Regions from separate parts of the Homo sapiens genome. Here all the other regions are linked to region 1. The links are contacts of gene promoters, found by promoter capture Hi-C in blood cells and fetal thymus (Javierre and others, 2016). All regions are on one chromosome and are shown on one strand. Each heading gives the region's core, a stretch centred on a gene start or on the middle of the fragment in contact. The rest is flanking DNA. Distances are from core to core; before and after follow the strand shown. Region 1 holds the start of CWC15 (CWC15 spliceosome associated protein). Region 2 overlaps CEP57 (centrosomal protein 57). Region 3 has its middle 25 kb from the start of FAM76B. Region 4 has its middle 49 kb from the start of FAM76B. Region 5 has its middle 72 kb from the start of FAM76B.

Region 1 (4,345 bases), core at 1,287-3,786:
TTTCTTAATACTTTCAAACCATTTAAGTCAAAAGCTTTAGTTTCATTTTCTTATTAGCACTTTCATTTAAGTCAAAAGCTTTTAATTTTGTGGATTGACTATATTGTATATTGGTGTTAATGAAATTATAGGGTGGCTATTTATCACCACTGGCAACCAAAAGATTAGGTTAGTGGGCTGGGAGTTAAATCAATGAAGTGATTCACTCCAGGCTAATGAGGACAGTTGGAACATAAAAACTGTGGGTATCTCCTATAATTGTGTTACCATCTTGCCATTGTTACGTCATTCCTCTACTTCATAGTGCATCATTCATTCATTCATTCATTCAACAAATACTTACTCAGCACCTATTATGTGCCAGGCACTGTTCTATATGCAGAGGATACACCCAGTGAACAAGAGAGACAAGGTTCCTGCTTTCCTGGAACTTATGTTCTAATATAGGAAGATAGACAATAATAATAAAAATAATATTAATAATAATAATAATAGCTAACATTTATTTAGCAAGTACTATTTGCTGAGACAGTTCTAAGCACTTTACAAGTATTAATTCACTTAATCCTTAGAGTAGTATTACAAGTTAGGGACTAGAATTACGCCCATTTTACACGTGAGGAAACTGAAAGCACAGAAAGGGAAAATGACTTGCCTAAGGTTATAGAGCTAGGAAAGGGCAGAACTGGAATTTAGAACAAAAATGGGCAGGCTGAAGATCCTTTTCTCTTAATGACCTTCGCATGCTGTCTCCTGAGAGACATGGAAATAAAAAATGAATAGAATAGACTCTGGTAATGTTTAGTGGTATGAAAAATGAAACAGGGTGATGTGATGGTGTACAAACACAAGTGTTGGAGGGGTGGGGGTAGGAAAACCTCACTGTGATACCTGAGACATGAAGGATGGTGATACAGTTACTTTGGGGCACAGGCAACAGAGAAAAGCTAGTGCAAAGGCCCTAAAATAGAAGGAATCTTGCCCTGTTTTATAAAACAGAAATGCCCACTTGGCTGTGTCTAGAGCTTAGTGCGTAAGCGAGTGACTGATTGGAAGTGAAGTCTGGAAGGTAGGCAGGAACCAGACTCCGTGGGGTCTCAGGTCACATTAAGAAATGTGATTTTTATTCTAAGTGCAGTGAAATTGTACACAGGATAGTAACACCATTTTATTAATTTTAAAAGATCACTCTCTTGGCTATATGCAACACTGACTGTAGGATAAAAGATGACGCAGGAAGATATAATAGGAAGCAATTACAATCCAGGTAGGAGATGGTGTTGGCAAAGGCAAGGGTAGTGGCAGTAGAATAAAATTGCGGGTGAGTTTTAAAAGTAGAATTGTTAAGACCTGTAAATGAACCGTATGTGAAGAGTGAATGAAAAGGAATTTAAGTAGGCACTCCGGGATTTTGGTTTGAGTAACTAGCATGATGATCGCGTCTTTTAGTGAGACTTGTTAAGACTGGAGGAGGGATACCTTCGGTAAGAAAAATCAGGATTTTCATCTTGAACTCTATGACTGAAAGGGCTTTTTCTGCTTTTCTTTCTTCATTAAAAAGTTGCAAAGAATTTAGGGGTAAGAAAGCATTTAAATATTCAATTTTGTGAGTTCCTTACATTTTAAACTAAGTTGGGGAAGTTGAATTTTCATTTGTTTAACAAATATTAATTGAGCAGCTACTATACGTCAAGGTCTATGTGATGAGATACCAAGATGAGCTAAACAACCAAGATCTCTATTCTCAGAATTTGTTTTTATGGAAGGGAGGAGAGACGACTGGTAGGTTTTTGGTTTTCGGGTTTTCTACTTTTCGTTGTCTTATTAAAACTTAACACTTAAGTAGCCATCTTAATAATTACATCTTGTGCTCCTGGTAGTTGGGCCCACCATTGTAAACGCTCTCGTAAATACTGACATCTCCCCTCCCACTAAAACTAACGTTTTTTAAATAAGAAATTTTAGCAAACATTACGAATACAACCTTTGCTTTGAAGTGTTAATATTTTTGCAGGAATGGTACCTTTGTAAAGATCGTGGTTGCCCCGTACATATTTGTTCTTTCTTCATATCCAATTAAATGAAAACACTAGTTTTTCCGAAGCCCAACTCTCTAGGTTTGTTGGTTCTAGCTCAGGAGAAAGGATGGAAGCAGGAGTCGTTGGATTTAAACAGTTTGGTGTAATCCTTTTCCACGCTCTCTCCCGCTAGCCGGGGACGTGGTGTCGGCTACCCGGGGCTTTCCGTCCACGCAGTACCGGAATGAAGGAGTCTGGGAGGGGGTCGGGGACGGAAAAGACGGAAGAGACATTAAGTAATTGGTTCTTGAAGGTATAAAATGAGGTTTAGGGTCTACTCTAAGGCACTGATTTCAAACGCCCGCCCCCTGGGCCGCTTCGGCCCCGCCCCTTAGTGCCGTTACGCCGACTTCCACTTCGGCCACTGCGGATTGGTCGTTGCTTCCGCCCCCGAAGCGCTTGGATTTTGCTTCCGGGTCGTAGGCGCTAGCTCTGGGCGCAGAGGTTTCTGGGAGCCAAGAGTGGTAATGGCGTCTGTATGATCTTCGGAGCCTGCTGCATCGGACCTCGGCCAGTGTGAGCGGCAAGAGGATAGGAGATTATCTTTCTTATCGCGATGGGACGGGAAAGGGCAGTTGGGGTCGGAGTCGGCGGCAGAGTGCAGAGCGCGGGCGGTGGAGGCCCTGGAGCAGCGGGCTAGGGGCGGAACCGAGTGCCTGTCAGGCGCGTCTGGAGCTCTTGGGCCCGCCGAGGAGATCGCAGCGTACAGGCAGCTCGCCTACTGCGTAAAGCGAACCCCAGGTCCTCCCTTCACTACCCTTCGCACCCCTGCAGTGCTGGGCACGGGTGAAGAGGCAGCGAGTTTCTGGTTATAGCCAAAGACTAGCTCACGGGAGGCCGGAGTGATAATTCCGTGGGTGTGTGGGAAGGGGCGGCGCCCCCAGCGCCAGATAACCCTGTTTTCTTCTTTGTATACATGTCTCTACCCTTTTTGAAAGTTGAGAGAATTAGCATCGCCCCCCCCCCAAAAAATCCTCCCAATTCGCCCACCCTCCCCACACACTTGCTTTTCCGACACTAACAGGGTTTTAGTGACTGCATCTGCTGCACAGTATTCTTGTGACTGCTCCAAGCAGAAAGTAACTTGAGGAATGAGTCCCTGATTTTTGGCATCAGAATCCTCTGGGGGTGAGGTTCCTGTTTTTTTTGAACAGGCCTTAAATTATAACCCACAAACGATCTAATTTATAGTATGATGCCTGTTGTAGGAGAAAATTGGCTCAACAAACGGTTGTTTAAGAATTTTTTTCTGTGTAACTGTCATTGAAGTTTAACACACTTTTCTCTGGGACATTTAGTAACTTTGTCAGTGATATTTTTTGTTTGTTTTTAGCTTTTGTTTCTACTAGCCTATTTGCTATTGTGTGAAGTTTAGATAAAATGCAAACCTTACAGAGTCTGGTAGAGTAAGGTTGAGTTGGAAATTTTTAAAACTCAGTCATGGCAGTACTGTATTTTACTAGGGTTTTGACATGTCAAGTGTCATAATTCTTATAATCTATGAGGAATATCTCCATTCCACAGATGACAAAGTTAAGCCAGGTGACTTGCTCAAGCCCATATAGTCAGAAGGAGAATAGGGATGCAAACTCAGATCTTCATGACAGAATTTTTTGTACTAAGGCAAGCCTGAGAAGCCATATTCCTTGTACAGCCTAAGCCTCATAATTTGTTTTCTTGAAAACTTTTGTTTAAGAAGATTAAGCAGGTTTTGGGGAATGAGTTTTAGAACTTATTTTACCAGTATGGATATTGATTAATACTCTATAAAATGAGTGTTTGTAATGTTGGAAATAACTTGATTATATTTTTCTTCAAAGCATAAAAGATGACAACAGCAGCCAGGCCAACCTTTGAACCTGCCAGAGGTGGAAGGGGAAAAGGAGAAGGTGATTTGAGCCAACTTTCAAAGCAGTATTCAAGCAGAGACCTACCCTCTCATACAAAGATAAAATACAGGTAGTAAGACTTTCTTTTTTTATTGTTCACAAAACAAGACCAGATCTGTTAAATGGCATGGTCATGATATAGTAGTATGTTTGAGTTATGTCACTTATCTATTTTCATAGGAATAGAATGCAATAGGATGTTTAACACTAAAATTCTGCTGTGATTTTAAAATGTGAAATTCCTACTAACCAGGAATTTTCATATGTAGATAGAACAATAAATAATAGAAATAATAATGCCTCAGAGTATGCACTATGAGCACCAGTCAGTATATTAAAAGTATTACTGTTAAGTTCTGAGTTGATATAATCCTAATA
Region 2 (4,345 bases), core at 828-3,327, 830 kb before region 1:
TATCTACATTCTTCTCACACCTGGTAAAAAAGTATTTACATGAACAAAATACTACTCTGGACATACTCATATCCTTGATTACAGTGGTTCTCAAAATATGGGGCATAGGCACATTGAGGGCAGAGCTCATGAGGCCTTTCCCAGGGCCTGTGAGGTCAACACTATTTTCATAATACTATTAATAGTAAGACTTCACTTTTTTCACTGTGTTGAAGTTTGCCAATGATCATGCAAAAGCAATGTTGGGTAAAATTCCTAATTTTAGCTCAAATCAAGGTAGTAACACTAAACTACTATTTTAGGCATTGTATTCTTCACTGTCATAAATTCCCAGTAAGAAAAACTAAGCCACAATGTCCTTGATGAAGCAATAAAAATCATGTCAGGTTTGCCAGGCACGGTGGCTCACACCTGTAATCCCAGCACTTTGGGAGGCTGAGGTGGGCGGATCACGAGGTCAAGAGATCGAGACCATCCTGGCCAACATGGTTAAACCCTGTCTCTACTAAAAATACAAAAATTAGCCAGGTGTGGTGGCATGTGTCTGTAATCCCAGCTACTCAGGAGGCTGAGGCAGGAGAATTGCTTGAACCTGGGAGGCAGAGGTTGTAGTGAGCCAAGATCATGCCACCGCACTCCAGCCTGGGTGACAGAGTGAGACTGTCTCAAAAAAAAAAAAAAAAAAATCATGTCACGTTTATAAACCTTTCACATGCTGTACTCTTGTTGAACTTTTCTTCTTATAGAACTGTGCTCATTCTTTAAAACTCAGATTATCTATTATTTCGTTTTTCCTCTGAGAGGTTTTCCTCTCCTTTAACCTCCCCAACACACTTATCCCTATCCCCAACAAATGTCTTTTCTGAACTCTCTTGGTCTTTGTTCATATCTCACAGCCTTTATTTTTTTTCTGGGTGAGAAGGGGATAGTGATTTCTGTGTCTTTCCTTCCCATTTGGAAAGTAAGTATCGTTGGATTAAAACACTATAAAAGGATAATGGATTATAATAATTATCCTGGGACATTGCTTAAATAGTTCACCGCATCATGCTCTAAAGGCATAAAAGCTTAAAGGTTACTTTTTATCTTGTTTATTTCTCCTCTCCGTCTCCTCCCTGCTTGTCTCACTTCTCTTTTATTCCTTAAAACCACTGATGTTGCACTCAAGCAGAATTTAGCTCTATTAGTAACATGCTGTGCTAAAATTTTTCTGATTCTCGGTGAATAAATCTGCCTTCTTAATATTTCTTATTCTTTGCTAGTAATTTGTCATTTTTTTGAACTTTTTAAAAGTTTCCTTTCATGGGTGTAAAGATCAGAACTAGATACAATATTATAGTTGAAGGATTAATATCTAATTCTTAGATTTTGTGTTCCTGTTAGAACTTTGTAAATGGATATTTTGTTTTGTGCTTATTTTTGAATAAGAAACTTACTGCAACTGATTTTTGCTCTACTGTGGGCTTCAGTCATTTTTTTTTTTTTTTTTTTGCTTTTTAAAATCTATGTTGTTTGAATGTCATGCAACTTAATTTTCTTAAATTGCCAACCTGCTATACTCTGATGTGTAGAACCTTATCAGTTGCTTTAACCATTAATTAAAAATTTTCGTTATCATCGAGACACAGTATCTTATAATAAAGAGGCTTCTAGGTTAGTGATTACAGAGTACTAAAATTCTTAAAAGACATCACACTATTTAGTTACTTTTATTTCAGTAAACACTTTTCAGCACCCATTATAGGTTAGGATTTAAGCTGGTATTTGGATATCATTACCTACTTGGTATTTTACTGTACAATCAGTCCAGTTTACAAAACAGGTTCATTCTGAGATTTTTAGGATACTTACAATATATATCCCAACTGAAACAAAAAATGTTCCTCAACTAATTTACAAATGCCTGTTTAGCCTACGATGTCAAAAATATTTCTTTTACCTAGAGAATCATTAACACATAGAATTGTTGCAATATTAGTGATTAAACACAACTTTCAAAAAAAGGAAATGCCACAGCATCCCAAATAAAGCAAAGATATTTCATTTAAACTTCACACAAAGTATGAGGTAGGTGTATTTTAAAAGATACAGATGAAGAAACATCTAAAAGACGATTAACAAATTCAATATCAAAACCATCTTTTCATTATCTGAGTGGGCCCAATCTGATAACATAACCAGAAAATTTTCTCCCGCTGTGGTTAGAGAAATGTAACAACAGAACTCAGAGAGATTTGAAACATAAGAGACTTGGCCAGGCGCGGTAGCTCATGCCTGTAATCCCAGCACTTTGGGAGGCCAAGGCGGGTGGATCACGAGGTCCAGAGATTGAGACCATCTGGGCCAACATGGTGAAACCTCGTCCCTACTAAAAATACAAAAACTAGCTGGGCGCGTCTGTAGTCCCAGCTACTCAGGAGGCTGAGGCAAGAGAATAGCAATAGCTTGAATCCAGGAGGCGGAGGTTGCAGTGAGCCGGGATCCCGCCACTGCACTCCAGCCTGGTGACAGAGTGAGACTCTGTCTCCAAAAAAACAATAAAAAATAAAAAAAAAAAAGAAACATGAGAGACTACCTACTGTTACCGTAGGAGACAATAAGGGAAACATGAAGGAAGGAGGACAGTTTCTAGGAGCAAAGACTGTCCTCAAGTAAAAGTCTGCAAAGCAACAGAATCTCAGTACTGCAATGACAAGGAACTGAATTTGGCTAAGAATCTTAATGAGCTTGGAAGCAGATCTTCCCCAGAGCCTCTAGTAAAGAACAGAGCCCCAAGCAAAGCCTTGATTTCAGCCTTGTAAGGCTCTAAACAGAGGACCCAGATAAGCCTACACAGATTTCCGACCTACAGAAAACTGAGATAACAAATATTTAAAGCTAAGTTCATGGCAATTTGTTAAGGCGACAAGAAAACTAATACAGATGGCAGGTTCCAGGAATAAATGTATTTCAAAGTAGCCAGAGCAAAGGATGGGAAAGGAAAAAACAGAAGACAAGTTAGGGATGAAGCTGGTGAGGCATATAGGGTCTAGGTTATGAAAAATTAAGAATTTATTATGTAAGCTATGAAGAGATGCTAAAGCTTTAATTTTGTGGGAGAGATGATGGATAATGACAAATGACAGAAATGTTGTTAACTGGGGATGAGGAGGAGAAAACAGGCAGGGAGATTAATGAGGAATGTACTATGAACATCTGGGCTACAGATGATGAAAGCCTGAACCAAAGCAATGAGAACACAAAAAGGCAGAAAAAACAGTATGCTTTTGGTATATTTCAGAAGCAAAAAAAGGTCTTCATTCCGGACTAATAGTGGGGATTACAGAGCAGTCACTGATGACTCAAAGTGTTTTAGCATCAGTAATTTGGTGGATGATGATGTTCAACAATCAATATAAGGAATACAAGAAAAGCATAATATTTTCTGGGGGCTGAAACTGGAAGCAAAGGGGAAATATATTTTCCTCTAATGGCAAAATAATGGAGGACAAAGTTAAGAATTTTAAAGCAGCAAGAAAACACAAATAACATTTATTTCGTTAGGCTCGATTACCTCTGCTGTTGCTTTCTGGATAGGCAAGTGTAGGCTTACTTGGGGAGCGTCGTAGATCACTATTAAGGAAAGGCTTATCCGAAGGATATACTACATATGGAGATGAAGAATGCCGAACCATGCTTCCATTAGACCTTGATGGCTCAGCAAAGCTGTTCTAAAAAATAAAGACACAAATTACCTTTCAAAAGTGTGAACCACAAATAGCAGATTTAAATCACAAATATTTATGACTGAGATTGACTGTCCATACAGACAACAGAAAAAATCCACTGACTAGAAACAATACAATTCAATCATTAAAGAAATACAACTTTTAAAGTGTTTCATATTAGTCTGAATATAGCCATATGCCAGACACAAGAAGAAAATAATGTTCATACAACTTGAATACAAATGCTGTGCAGAAATACTTAAATGATACAATGAATGTAAATACCGCAGTTAAAAATATATACTGTGAAATATACGTTCAGAAAAATAAAAACATTATTTTTACAGGACCAGAAACTGCTACAAATGACTGAATTACTCTATTCCCCATCCACAAACTACTACTTGAATATTTATAGTATTCAAAACTCCAGAAAGAAAATAAGGCACTGTCCTTGCCTCAAATACTTTACATTTAATTAACAAAAAAGAAAATAATTAGAAAACATTAAGGCCCATCAAACACTCAAACATAAAACTTTATTTCCACAGTACACCATTCTGTCATGAATGAGATTCTGTTAAATTTAGGATTCCACATAATAATTTCAACCCAGGAGATGCTAACTGTGGAGTTTT
Region 3 (4,345 bases), core at 502-3,001, 790 kb before region 1:
TTTTTCTTAATAACAAGTAACACTACCACCATCACCCCTGCCTGCCAAGTTACGCTCAATTTGAACAATACATGCTTATTGAAAAAAAAAATGCACAGCACAAAAATCAGGAGAAAAAAGAAAAAACCACTCACAGTTCTCCCAGGTGACATATTTGTTTCTGTTTTATATGTTTTCTTGCAGCATTGTGAGTAATGGCTATGATCATGCCACAATGTAATTCTGGTTCCTGTTTCCATTCTTCCTTTCTCCCCCTACTTAACAAAAACAATTTCCACACTAAAACAACAACAGCGATTATTTGTTGTCATTTCATAGCTGTGCATGTGAGGCATTTAAGACCACTATTAAATATTTAAGACGACTTTTTAGTGTAATGTCAGGTTTCAAATCCCACTTTGCCATTTGCTAGCTAGGTGTCTTGGAGGTGTACTTAATATCTCTGAGTTTCAGTTTCCTCATCTGTGTAATTACAGAGTTATTAATGAACATTAAGGTAAAGTATTGATACACAAAGCACTTTACATAATATAATAATAGATTTATAATATGACTTTTAATCAATTAAAAATAATACATAAGGTAATATAAAGGCTAACTACCTTTTCAACTTTGGAGCATGTCCCTTGATGCAGTCGATGAAAATTCTATTAGGGTTGATTAATGGCATCATAGTTTTCAGCCATGGAAACTTTTTTTTTTAAATAAAATCTTATCAAGAGTCCCAATATATAAAACAAAAGCTGATACACTGGTTGACGTCGAGGCAAGGATTGGTATCCCTTTCATAGTAGGATCAAACATGGCAGATGCTGGTACTGTGTCCTTGATCCTTGATGCGACATAATTTAAATGTCACAGTTATTTGAATTATATCTGAGTTTTTGCTAATTTTTAATTGAGAATCTCAATGAGTGATATCTTACTGTATAGACATTTTCATTTCAGGGAGGTGAATTTCCTGTTAAATTTAATTATCAGTTGAACATGTGTTATGTGCTGCTATGCACCAGTCACTATGCTAATTACTACAAAGATGCAAAGATAAATCTTATTCCCAGGAGCTCATAATCTAGAAGAGACAGCTAGGTAAATAAATCATTGCAGAAAGTATAATAAAGTATAGATATTCACAAATGTTTACATTAGGGAGGGACTTACTAAGATGAAACCATTTTGTGTAAAGAGAAAAAATGTCCAAAGGTTCATGACTTCTAGAACATCACATTTGCCTGTTTTTTTTGTTTGTTTGTTTTGTTTCGTTTTTTAACCCCTTACCTTTCGTGATGCTTTTCAGTTTCTTTTGTTGGTTCCTTCTCTTATCCCTTACATGGAATGGTTGGAGTTGCTCAGGGCTCTTTTTTTGCTTTCTTGGTAAACTCATTAATATTACCTATAAGCCTAATGACTCCCAAACTTACAGTAACGGCCTAGACCTCTCCCCCTAATTTCCAGAATTTCTATTCAATGAAACTTGGTATCTCCATCTGGGTGTCTTACAAAGGCTCTCAAGTTTTACACGTCCAAAATGATGTACTCTTTATCTGCACTCCCCAGTCCAAACAACTACCAAGGCAGCCACTCTGCTATCTTCCCATCTCTGATAATGGCAACTCAATTTTAGTTGTTACAGGCCAAAATCCTTGATGATATTGTTGACTCTTTTTCTCCCACTTCATGGCTGTTCTTTGAAAAGTTCTGCAAGCTCTAACTTCAAGTTTGACCTTTTTTTTTTTTTTTTTTTTTTTGTCATCTCCAATCCTAACTGGTATCTCTGTTGTCTGCAGTCTGTTCTCAACAAAGAGTGATCCTATTAAAAGATGTCATGTCATGTTATCCCTCTATTCCAGTGGTTCTCAACTGAGGGTGATTTTGCTCCCCTGGGGATATTTGGCAATGTCCGGAGACATTTTTGATTATCACACTGGTGGGGTTGGGGAGAGGTTGCTACTAGCATCAAGTGAGTGGATGCCAGGGATGCTGCCAAATATTCGACAATGCACGAAACAGCCCTATGCAATAAAGAATTTGTTAACTGAAAATGTCAGTAGTCTCAGCCGAGGGTTGAGAACCCCTGCTTAGTTCATTGGCACTGCTATAACATAACACCTTAGATTCGGTAGCTTATGAACATTAGAAATTTATATCTCATGGTTGCAGAGGCTGGGAAGTCCAAGATCAAGGAATTGGTAGATTCTGTGTGTGATAAGGACCCATGCTCATAAACAACCTTCTTGCTGTGTCTTTACACGGTGGAAAGGGCAAGGCAGCTCTCTGGGGCCTCTTTTTTAAGGGCACTAATCCCATTCATTGGATCAGATTTCTCATGACATAATCATCTCCAAAAGGCCTCACTTTCTAATACCATCACCTTGGTGATTAAAATAAAACATATAAATTTGGGAGGGAATGCAAACATTCAGACCATACCAGCTGCTCTACTCAAAACTCTAAAATAGTTTTACATCTCAGCTCTTATAATGGCCTAAAAGCCCTGTAAGAAAAGTCTTTATACCACACTACAGCTATTCTCCACCTCTTTTCTTTAATTCTGTAAATATTAAGAGGAAATAAAATGTATTTAAAAGTGTTAACCCTTTTTCTTAAAATTCCTACCTATTTCCACTAGGGGGAGGGCTTCACTACTAAATAATACAGTATTTTCACTTGCCACGTTGTTACAGGAGTCACTGTAATCAGAGCAAGCATCCTCATACTCTTTGTAACAATGTTTCATTATGTACGGTAACCCATTTTCAGATGCAATTTATTTTTCACAATTCCAGTGTACATTTTTTTTTCCATTCGATAAAAGTGAGTTTTAAAATATAATTTTGTCTTTGAATGGATTGTTTTTGAATTTGCAAATACTATTTTAAGGAGTTGCTTTAAAGATTTCCATACTGGATTTTTTTGTGCACATTTCTTTCCCTCTAAATCCAGTCCTACTGATGCACTAGGTGCAACATTTATTTGGTCCCTCCTTCATCTATCTGTGAGGAAGTTCCTGCACCCAGTATACCCAGGGGTAACATAATAGGTTAAGAAATCATCAATTCTAAATCAGAAGCCTACTATCTCCAACTAAGCCATTGTCTCCTAGAGAGACATGACATGGGCACTGCATTATTGAGCTTTTCATTGTCAATGCACCCCTGGAAGCCTGGAATTCTACAGTACACAACCTGTGCAGCCATGAAACCAAGGCTGAGGCTTGGATTACCCCCTGGGCTAGAAATAGGCTTTGAATCAAGCCATCGCATGTATTAAATGCCTCCTAAATGATCGTTCTTTGTAGATGTTGCTCATTTTTGCACATTCTATGTGACATGAATTTTTCTTCAAGAGGATTATTAGGCCTCCCCTATTATTCATGGAACAATGTCTACTGGGACATCAAGGGTTCATAAGGGCTGGACCATTCACCTTCTGTTGTGACCCCCTCTTTTATCAATGCAGCTAGAAAAACTGTACAGTTTAGAAAATACCTGAAAAGTGATGACTGAAACTGAAAACGATGAGGTGGAACAGCAGTGAGAAGGTAACCTGAGAAACCTGGAAAGTAGCTGAAAGGAAGGTGGGGCACTGGGAAAAGTGGAGTTCATACAAAAACCAAACACCAGCCGGGTGTGGTGGCTCACGCCTGTAATCCTAGCACTTTGGCAGGCTGAGGCGGGTGGATCACCTGAAGTCAGGAGTTTGAGACCAGCGTGACCAACATGGAGAAACTCCATCTCTACTAAAAATACAAAATTAGCTGGACATGGTGGCACATGCTGGTAATCCCAGCTACTCGGGAGGCTGAGGCAGGAGAATCGCTTGAACCCTGGAGGCGGAGGTTTCAGTGAGCCGAGACCGCACCATTGCATTCCAGCCTGGGCAACAAGAGTGAAACTCCGTCTCAAAAAATAAAAATAAAAGAAATAAAACCAAACACCAAGCCAGCATAATTACTGCATCCAACTTTTGTTTATATTAAAATGACTTTTAATACAAGTGTGACTTAGTCTGGGGTCATGGCATAACCATTCTGTAGCTAGGTGCTTTTATAGTCAAACTAACAGTCAAAACTCATAACCAGTAAATATATATATAATATGTGTTTGTGTGTATATATATGCTAAATGAAGTCTGCATTCTTATTTTCAAATTGTCTTAAGTTCTTTTTGCAATATACATTTTATTCAAATGGAAGGTTTAAAAATGGCTGCAGGAATTTAGAGAATTTTAGAAATCATTTCCAAGTGCCTCTCAAATGGAATGAAATGTATTTAATATGGTGTTTTCCTTACATCACCTTCTGATTTCCTTCAGCATAGCAACTCTGAGCAATCAGAAGCCGCAA
Region 4 (4,345 bases), core at 672-3,171, 770 kb before region 1:
TGTGTGTGTGCTTTTGTGTAGAATTGCCTTTCACGCAGTATTTTCCACAAATGATGCTAGAACAACTGGGTTATCCATTAAAAAAAATGAACACCACACACACCTTACTTCATACTCTTTTTACATAGTAATTTGACATGGCTTATAGGCCTAAACATAATGCTAAACTTATGACATTTTTTGAAGAAAAATATCAGAAAATATTTGTGACTTTGCGTTGGCATGGATGTTTTAGGCACAGAGAAAGCATGGAATATGAAGAAAAAATGGAAAAATAGAACGTTATCATAATTAAAATATTCTGCTCATAAGACCATTAAGAGAATGGAAAGGCAAATACAAACTGGGAGAAAATATTTTCAAAGTATATCTGACAAAGGATTTGTATATAAACATAAAAGAACCTTAGGATTCAATGAGAAGATAAAAAAATCCCAAGTAGAAAATGGGCAAAAGATTTCAACAGATTCACCATGAAAGAAGATATGCAAATGGCCAATAAGCACATGAAAAGATGCTGAACATCACTAATCATCAGGGAGTGCAAATTAAAACACAATGAGGGCCTGGCGCGGTGGCTCACGCCTGTAATCCCAGCACTTTGGGAGGCCGAGGCGGGCGGATCACGAGGTCAGGAGATCGAGAACATACTGGCTAACACGGTGAAACCCCGTCTCTACTAAAAATACAAAAAAATTAGCTGGGCATGGTAGCGGGCGCCTGTAGTCCCAGCTACTCGGGAGGCTGAGGTGGGAGAACGGCGTGAATTCAGGAGGCGGAGCTTGCAGTGAGCCAAGATCGCGCCACTGCACTCCAGCCTGGGCGACAGAGCAAGACTCCGTCTCAAAAAAAAAAAAAAAAAAAAAACCACAATGAGATACAATCACGGATTCACTAGAATTACTAAAATTAAAGAGATTGACAATACGAAGTATTTACAAAATGTGGAGCTACTGTAACTCATAAATTAGTTATGAGAATATAAAATGATAGAACACTTTGGAAAACAGTCTGGCATATTCTTATAAAGTTAAAATACAATTATCATAGGACCAGCAATGCTGTTTAGGAATCTACACAGGAGAAAGAGAGCATATGTCCACATAAAAAATTTTACATGAATGTTCATAGCAGCTTTATTCATAACAGCCAAAAAAAAAAAAAAAAAAGCAAACAACTCAAATGTCTATGACTAGGTTGATAAATAAACAAATTATAGTATATTCACACACTGGATTACTACTTAGCAATAAAAAAGAGCAAAGTACTTAAACATGTAACACATAAATGACTCAAAAATAAACTGAATGAAAGAAAATACACAAAAGCAAACGTACGAAATTTTAGCAAAGACAAAAACTCAACTAAAGTGACAGATAAGTGGTTGCTTGGGGACTAGGGTGGCGATAATTTGCTACCAAGGGGACAAGGGAACTTTTTGGGATGATGGAAATGTATTGATGACTGTGGTAGTTATAGAGGTTATACATTTGTCAAATCTCATTCACATATAAATATAAGAAATAGGTGCACTTTATTGTGTATAATTCATACCTTAAGTTGATTTGAAAGACCACGACAATGCATGACTCCCTGACAGGACCGCTGGTCAGCTAGCAGCAACCATTTTACTAGTCATATAAGTTTATGTTACACTGATTCACTATTTAGGTTAGGAGGAGAATATAGCTCCTTTGGTACAGCGATGGGGGCTTTGCCTGGCTAGAATTTATCATGCCCTTTGAGCAGTGGGTGATGTGATGAGATATCCCCAGGATGAAGAAAAGGGAAGGCAAAAGTGCAAAAGTCTGTCATATGGTAACTAATATTCTTGACCAGACAACACTTCTATAGGTCCCAGAGAAATCTGAGTAGAGGGAAAGGCCAGACAAATATATGCTATCCCTTGTCAGGATTTTAGCTCCTCATGCTGCATTTACATTGTGAGAAGTGAGTTTTAAGAGATACCAAAAGGGAACAAAGCATTAAGAAAGAACAATTTAGGCTGGGTGCAGTGGCTCATGCCTGTAATCCCAGTACTTTGGGAGGCCGAGGCAGGCAGGTCACCTGAGGTCGCGAGTTCGAGACCAGCCTGAGCAACATGGTGAAACCCCATCTCTACTAAAAACACAAAAGTTAGCCGGGTGTGGTGGTGCATGCCTGTAGTCCCAGCTACTTGGGAGGCTGAGGCAGGAGAATCGCTTGAACCTGGGAGGCAGAGGTTGCAGTGAGCCGAGATCATGCCATTGCACTCCAGCGTGGGCAACAAAGGCGAAGCTCTGTCTCAAAAAAAAAAAAAAAAAAAAAAGAAAGAAAGAAAGAAAGAACAATTTTCATGGGAGCAAGGGTGCATAAACTCCTTAGTGTTCTACTCCCAACCTTTCAACAGTAATAGCCCAGGCTTATATTGTGTTCATTGTGTACTACACATTTCTTTCATATATATATATATATATATATATATATATATATAGTATATGTCATATATAAAGACACATGCTGCATACAGATATTTGTGTGTGTGCACACACATATATATTTTATATATATAGTTATGCATCATTTAATGATGAAAATGTCCTTTGAGAAATGGATTATTAGGCACATTTATCATTATGTGAATATCATAGAGTGTACTTACACAAACCTAGATAGTAATAGCCTACTGCACATCTAGGCTATATGGTGGTCCAGCCTATTGTTGCTGCTTGGCTACAAACCTGTACAGCATGCTGCTAAACTGAATGCTGTAGGCAATTGTAACATAATGGTAAGTATTTGTGTATCTAGACATACCTAAACATAGAAAAAATACAGTAAAAATACAGCGCAAGAGATAAAATAATGGTATATCTGTATAGGGCAGCTCCATTATAATCTTGTGGGACCATAATTGCATATGCAGTCTGTTGTTGGCAGAAGCATTGTTATGTGATGCATAGCTGCATATAATTTATTCCTATCTCATGACAACCTTGATTATCACTCCTATCTGACAGTTTGGTCATTGAGACACAGAAAGAATAACTAGCTTGCCCAAAGTCACACAGCTACTAAGAGACAGACCTAAGATTTAAACCTGTAGATTATGGTGCTTTCCACAATTCTGCCAGTTGTGCTCTTAAGGTATCAGCACTTCAGAACGATTCCCCTCACAGGTAGAATCAAGCAAAGAGAGACTTCACCTCCCAGTTCAGATTGAGAAATATAAAAAAGAACCCCATCCTTTATGTATGTACATATGTATGGTGAGTGTATTTGCTGAAGGTAACTGCCTACTATCACTTATTTGATTTTTCATTTAACAAATATTTGTTAAATGTGTGACTTCCAGGTATCTGATATTATGCCAATCATTGGGGATTCAGAAATAAATACATTGTAATCCCCAGTTTCAAAGGACTGGAAATTCCTCCAGGATGACTGTGAAAGGCACATAGTGCAGAGGAGAGTTAGAACACTGACCACACTAGCTATAGGCTGGATATTTAGGCCATACAATATCCATCTACATTCTCAGGAGACTGTCTGCACTTGACTCACTGAAGGTCACACCTGGGCATCCCTGGGGATCCTCTTATCTTTACCATTAAGCAATGTGAAGCCATAAAATGATTAGGGTTGGCAGGCTTTTAGAGGATTAATGTTCTAACAAATTGGGTGATTTTGCTCAGCTTAGCTATTGAGGATAACATATTGTGAATTTACTGAGCTCATCTGTGACCAGATTCCTCTGCAGGGTAATTGAAAGTGAGTGGAAATGGCTATTTATGTATTCTCAGCCATTAGATGTTGCTTTCATCTCTGATTTCTTTGGATGATGAGTCAAAATATATACTGAGATCATTGCCTGTGGGTTCCACTTTGCATGTTCAATTAACTAAGGCCTGTGCTTAGTACTGGACATTAAAAGACAGATGGTGAAGGGAAGCTGGACTCAGACTTCAGAAGTGACCCACCAGCCAAATGGGGGTATATTTCTGAATTGCATCTTCCTTTAGGGCTTGATGGCCACTAGGGGTGTGAGTTGCCCTCAGCTAAATTCACAGACCTGTGGTAGTGTGGCCCAAAGTGTTCGTCTTGATGTTAAGAATAATTTTAAAACCCCTTAAAAAAGAGCTTTTGGTGAAATTCATCTGAGAGGTTCTGCACTGAACAAGGTTGAATGCATTTCTGTAGTGCAGGATTTTTCAGCATCCTGGGCAGCCTTACATGTGTTGGTACTCTCTAAAAGAAGGTAATAAAATTATCAATCTTATATAAGGGCACCAGCACTTATCAAGCACCTATATATTATTTATTACATTAAATACTTTATATAGATTGCTTTATATCATCTGCATAA
Region 5 (4,345 bases), core at 1,023-3,522, 740 kb before region 1:
GTCAGTAAGGTCGGCAGCGTGTGCCAAGAACAAAACTCCTGGAGGATGAGGAAGCCCTTACCTACAAGGCATGGTTAAAGAGGTTTTAAAAAACGCGTTTGACTTCCTAACTCAAGTATTTCCCTTCCGGATTCTGCCAAAGTGCTTGGAATTTCCCGCAGTTCCTTATCCCTTGGTTTAGGCACTAAGGTCTTATGTAAAGTATAGGTGCTGTTTAAGTATAGGAAACATGAAAAATTTAACTCCGATTAATTCACTGGTTGAGCTGCAGTAGTTTAGCAGAGGAATAGGATATTCCTGAGAGAGTAAGACATGAGACAGATGAGATTTGTTATGGGAAGAGGAGTTGTTCTTATCTTTGGTGGTTATAGGCTCCTTAGAGAGTATTTCAAATGCTATAATTTTCTCTCCAGAAAAATGTATTATAGTAGAGATGACCTTTTTCAGCTGGGCATGTTTAAAAGTCAAAACTAGATGAAAATTTTGCAGAGACAAAATTTTACTTAAAAACCCTTAAATCACTAGCAGGGCTTGGTTGTGCATGCCTGTAATCCCAGCTACTTGGGAGGCTGAGGCACGAGAATTACTAGAGTCCAGGAGGTGGAGGTTGCAGTGAGGCGAGATTGCCCACTGCACTCCAGCCTGGGTGACAGAGTAAGACCCTGTCTCAGAAAAAAAAAAAAAAAAAAAGCCCTTAAATCACCTATGATTTATAGTGTAAATGATTTTGTGATATTTACTATTCAGTAATTATTAAGCATATTGAAACTTGATTACCATTGATCTAGACCAAAGAAAAAAGAATGTGTATATGCTGGTGTCTGGCCCTTTACAGCATTCTGCCTTTGTAGTAACTATTAATTGTCTGGAAGAGAATGGGGAGCAGTGTCCATTCTCAAGCTTGCCTGCTGGTTATAGTCCAGTCTGTTTTTTTCCATAGCCTTAATACATGCTAATAGATTTGTTTGTGGTTGAGGATAAAGAAAACTAGTGGCAAGACTAGGTTCTAAAATCAGAACATGACTTACATTTGTGCAAAATGAGGCTCTACTGTAAACACAAAACTAACTCTTGGTCTGGAACATTTGTTGTTTCAGGTGGATGGGAGGATGGGAATTAGAGCAACTGGGAAATTAGAGCAGCTGAGGCTAGGCGCTGAGGGTGATGAAAACACTGTAGGTAATAGACAGGGAGATGGAGAGGGTTGTGTTAAAACCCGTCTGCTGACCTTCAATTTTTTCCTTGGGCCAGCCCTGGCCAGAGACCTTTCCTCTTTTTAAAATTCCCTTTGCTCCCATATCTGTTCGCTGCTTCCCGCCATCCTGTCTCTCTCCTATGTTCCCTAGTGCTCCTCCCTGGCCTCTTAGCATTCAGCAAGTGAGGCCTAAAGGAAGTTCTCAGTTGGGTAAAAGGAAAGCATAAAGCAGCCTTATCACCACTTCCCTGATTCCTCTGGGGTTTATTGTTATTAATTTTCTTATGCAGTGTTTCTATGAGGCAGCTGTATTTTCAGCTGGAGAAAACTTTGAGACCTTAAGGACAGAAAAAAAAAAAGAGAATCTGTTAAGAAAGAGAGTGAAGAAATTTAAAAGTCAGTATTTCTTTATATAGTATCAACTGTAGCCAGTTCCCATTTTTTCTACAAAATCTTCCCTGGGTGAATAGAAGGTAGATGGCCACTCTCTCTGATCTAATGGTTTCCCATTTCTTTTTTTTGGCACAAAGTTATGAACAATAAAATTCCTCAGTATCTAGTGAAACCATTTATTCACTTGTTATGTCAGCCTATAAATTTGCTAGGAAGTTAATTAGTGATTTAGGTGCTCTGACCATTACAAAAGCCATAAATCTCTCTATAGATCCATAAAGGTACGTCTCTACCTCTTACCCTATTTCCTTCTTTGGTAGAAAATAAAAGGGGGGCATATGATGTACTTTGTTGTTTGTTTATTGCAAAGATTAAATGAGACAATGTATGTGAAAACCCTAATCATTACTTAGCACACCAAACAGTTCAATGCATGCTATTTTCACTTTTTTTCTTTAGATGAACACTCCCACACTCCAGATGTTTCTGTTCTTATCAGAACCTGGTGCCTATTCCTTCAGAACCCTGAGAGGTGGCAAGAAACAATAGGACATGTGAATTTATGCTAAAGCTATTGGAGAGCTTATAATGCCAGAAGCAGAAAGGTGGGGATGGAGTGGTACACAGTTAGCTTTCATATCCATTACAGCAGATTTATATTTCTTTAAGTTGTGCTTTGCAGGTTAGAACTCTTCTTGTTTATGGGGACAATCCCTACCTGATTAAGATAGAAGAAAACTAGTGAGATCCTTAGCAATGTCTTTGAATTTTAATTAATTAACTAATTTATTTATTTATTTTTATTTTTTTGAGACAGAGTCTCGCTCTGTTGCCCAGGCTAGAGTGCAGTGGCATGATCTCGGCTCACTGCAACCTCTGTCTCTTGGGTTCAAGCGATTTTCCTGCCTCAGCCTCCCAAGTAGCTGGGATTACAAGCATGTGCCACCACTCCTTGCTAATTTTTTTTTTTTGTATTTTTTTTTAGTAGAGACAGGGTTTCACCATGTTGACCAGGCTGGTCTCGAACTCCTGACCTCAGGTAATCTGCCCGTGTTGGCCTTCCAAAGTGCTAGGATTATAGTCGTGAGCCACTGCGCCCGGCTGTTTTTTAATTTTTAATTTTATTTTTCTTCTATAGACCCAGGAACTTGAGTTAGCAGTGTTAGGTAATCTGCAAACAAAATGATTTTTGTAGTCGAAGTACCTGGGTTTTTTTCAATTTCTTTTAAAAATATATTGATGTTAACACCCTAAACCCATAAGGATGGGAATTTTTTTTGTTGTTCTTTTTATTGCAGCATCCTGGTCATTTAGAGCAGTGCCTGACACATGATATAAACCCCCGAAGTTTTGTTGAATAAATGAAGGAATGAACAATCTTGTTTAAGTAGACTAATACAAGACAATCTACGCTCTGCCTCTCTAGTATATCTGAGAATGTCTTGTAGGTATTCTCAGGAGTGCTGAGAAAAGATGTTTTTGAGAGACTTCTATGTATCTTGCATTATGTTGGGCTCTTGGGATTTTGTGGTTAACAAGTTAGTCATGCTCCCTGCCATGAAATGAGCATATAGTTTAGTGGGGAAAAGAAAGACTTAAAAAGTGAATATAAGAGGGATGGTTTTTATGGGGAAAAAAAACAAAACGTACAGAGAGTGGAGCAATGTGAGCACTGTAGGAGACCCAGCATGTGAACAGAGGCAGCATTCTGAAAGCAAGTCTCAGAGAACATGAAAACATCTTAAAAACAAAAACAACAAAAATTTCAAATGAAAGGTATTATCAGCAAAGGCCTTGTGATTAATTAGCTGCTCTATCTCTTTCCTGGGGTACAAAGTGAGGAGGACAATTGTCTCAGTGGTTCTGACGTGTGTATGACCCTGAGATGCAGTTAAGGAATCAAGCCTGAATAGGTCAGCAAGCCACTTGTTCTAAAATTCTTCTTGGGAGGAAACATCTGTGTCTCTTTCAGGATGCCAGCCATCACATGGGTCTTTCAACATTAGCATATTTTTCAGCCATCTGCAGTGGTTGCCTCCCTCCCACACAAGCTTAGTCACTGCACACAAACACACCTTTGTCCAAACTTCAGTACCAGGCTTTACAATGAAAGTCTCTGTGGCATCTCCGTGGAACCACATTTCCCAAGAGTGCTGCATAGCTATTTTACTTGCAATGCATTTATCACTTTTTAGCTCATTTGAATGCATGGGAAAACACAGAAGACTGTTGTCGTAGGTGGTGGTGTTTTATGGTTGTTATTGTTTTTCCTTAAAGTCATAGGGTAAAAGAAAGCTTGAAATATCATTTGTTTTCACTTCCTACTAGGCAATTAGGTAGACCCACTCTTAAATAAAACCTCTAATTTAGTATCCTCTCATTTTCAACTCACCTACAGTGATGAAGTTCTACAGGCTCCCTATGTTAAATTATTCTAGCGTTAATAAACCTTATTTTTGAAAATTTCTTTTACTTTTAGCTAAAGTATCTTCCATTGTCTCTGGAGGTAAATGTTAAGTTTCAGTTGTAGAACTACATCAGCTTATGATACAGTTAAGAGCAAAGGTCTTGGAATCAGGCAAATGTAAGTTCAAATTTGACCTCTGCTTCTGATGAACTGTGTGATTTGAGACAATTATATGACATTTTGCATACCAGTTTCCTTTTCTTCATCTGTAAACTGAAGAAACTAACACTCATATCAAGAGAATAATGTCTGCGACCATGATATTGACCCAGTTTCTCCCCCGTAATGAG

What was found. Contacts are between HindIII fragments. The CHiCAGO score rates a contact against its expected background, and 5 or more counts as called.
Region 2: a fragment that was not itself captured here is called in contact with the fragment with the promoter of CWC15 in region 1 in 1 of 17 cell types (non-activated CD4 T cells); the score reaches 8.7 in non-activated CD4 T cells.
Region 3: a fragment that was not itself captured here is called in contact with the fragment with the promoter of CWC15 in region 1 in 2 of 17 cell types (naive CD8 T cells and monocytes); the score reaches 6.8 in naive CD8 T cells.
Region 4: a contact is called between a fragment that was not itself captured here and the fragment with the promoter of CWC15 in region 1, in 2 of 17 cell types (total CD4 T cells and M2 macrophages). The highest score is 5.9, in total CD4 T cells.
Region 5: a fragment that was not itself captured here is called in contact with the fragment with the promoter of CWC15 in region 1 in 3 of 17 cell types (activated CD4 T cells, non-activated CD4 T cells and M2 macrophages); the score reaches 6.9 in activated CD4 T cells.

What each region holds. Positions count from the first base shown.
Region 1 is chr11:94,971,747-94,976,091 of GRCh38, reverse strand. CWC15 (CWC15 spliceosome associated protein) reads left to right here and starts at 2,536. Exons shown (of 7, transcript NM_016403.4): 1 at 2,536-2,594; 2 at 3,899-4,037. The coding sequence starts at 3,907. KDM4D (lysine demethylase 4D) reads right to left here and starts at 2,383. Exons shown (of 3, transcript NM_018039.3): 1 at 2,024-2,383; 2 at 344-438. RefSeq lists enhancers at 2,130-2,279, 2,600-2,769, 2,484-3,259. The HindIII fragment of the contact is 9,854 bases long and covers 81-4,345 here.
Region 2 is chr11:95,798,597-95,802,941 of GRCh38, reverse strand. CEP57 (centrosomal protein 57) reads right to left here. Exons shown (of 11, transcript NM_014679.5): 2 at 3,554-3,710. Among named protein-coding and RNA genes, the nearest start is that of CEP57, 10 kb to the right of the region's middle. The HindIII fragment of the contact is 2,015 bases long and covers 1,070-3,084 here.
Region 3 is chr11:95,762,767-95,767,111 of GRCh38, reverse strand. No RefSeq gene overlaps it. Among named protein-coding and RNA genes, the nearest start is that of FAM76B, 25 kb to the left of the region's middle. The HindIII fragment of the contact is 5,772 bases long and covers 1-4,345 here.
Region 4 is chr11:95,738,960-95,743,304 of GRCh38, reverse strand. No RefSeq gene overlaps it. Among named protein-coding and RNA genes, the nearest start is that of FAM76B, 49 kb to the left of the region's middle. The HindIII fragment of the contact is 8,213 bases long and covers 1-4,345 here.
Region 5 is chr11:95,715,240-95,719,584 of GRCh38, reverse strand. No RefSeq gene overlaps it. Among named protein-coding and RNA genes, the nearest start is that of FAM76B, 72 kb to the left of the region's middle. The HindIII fragment of the contact is 2,739 bases long and covers 903-3,641 here.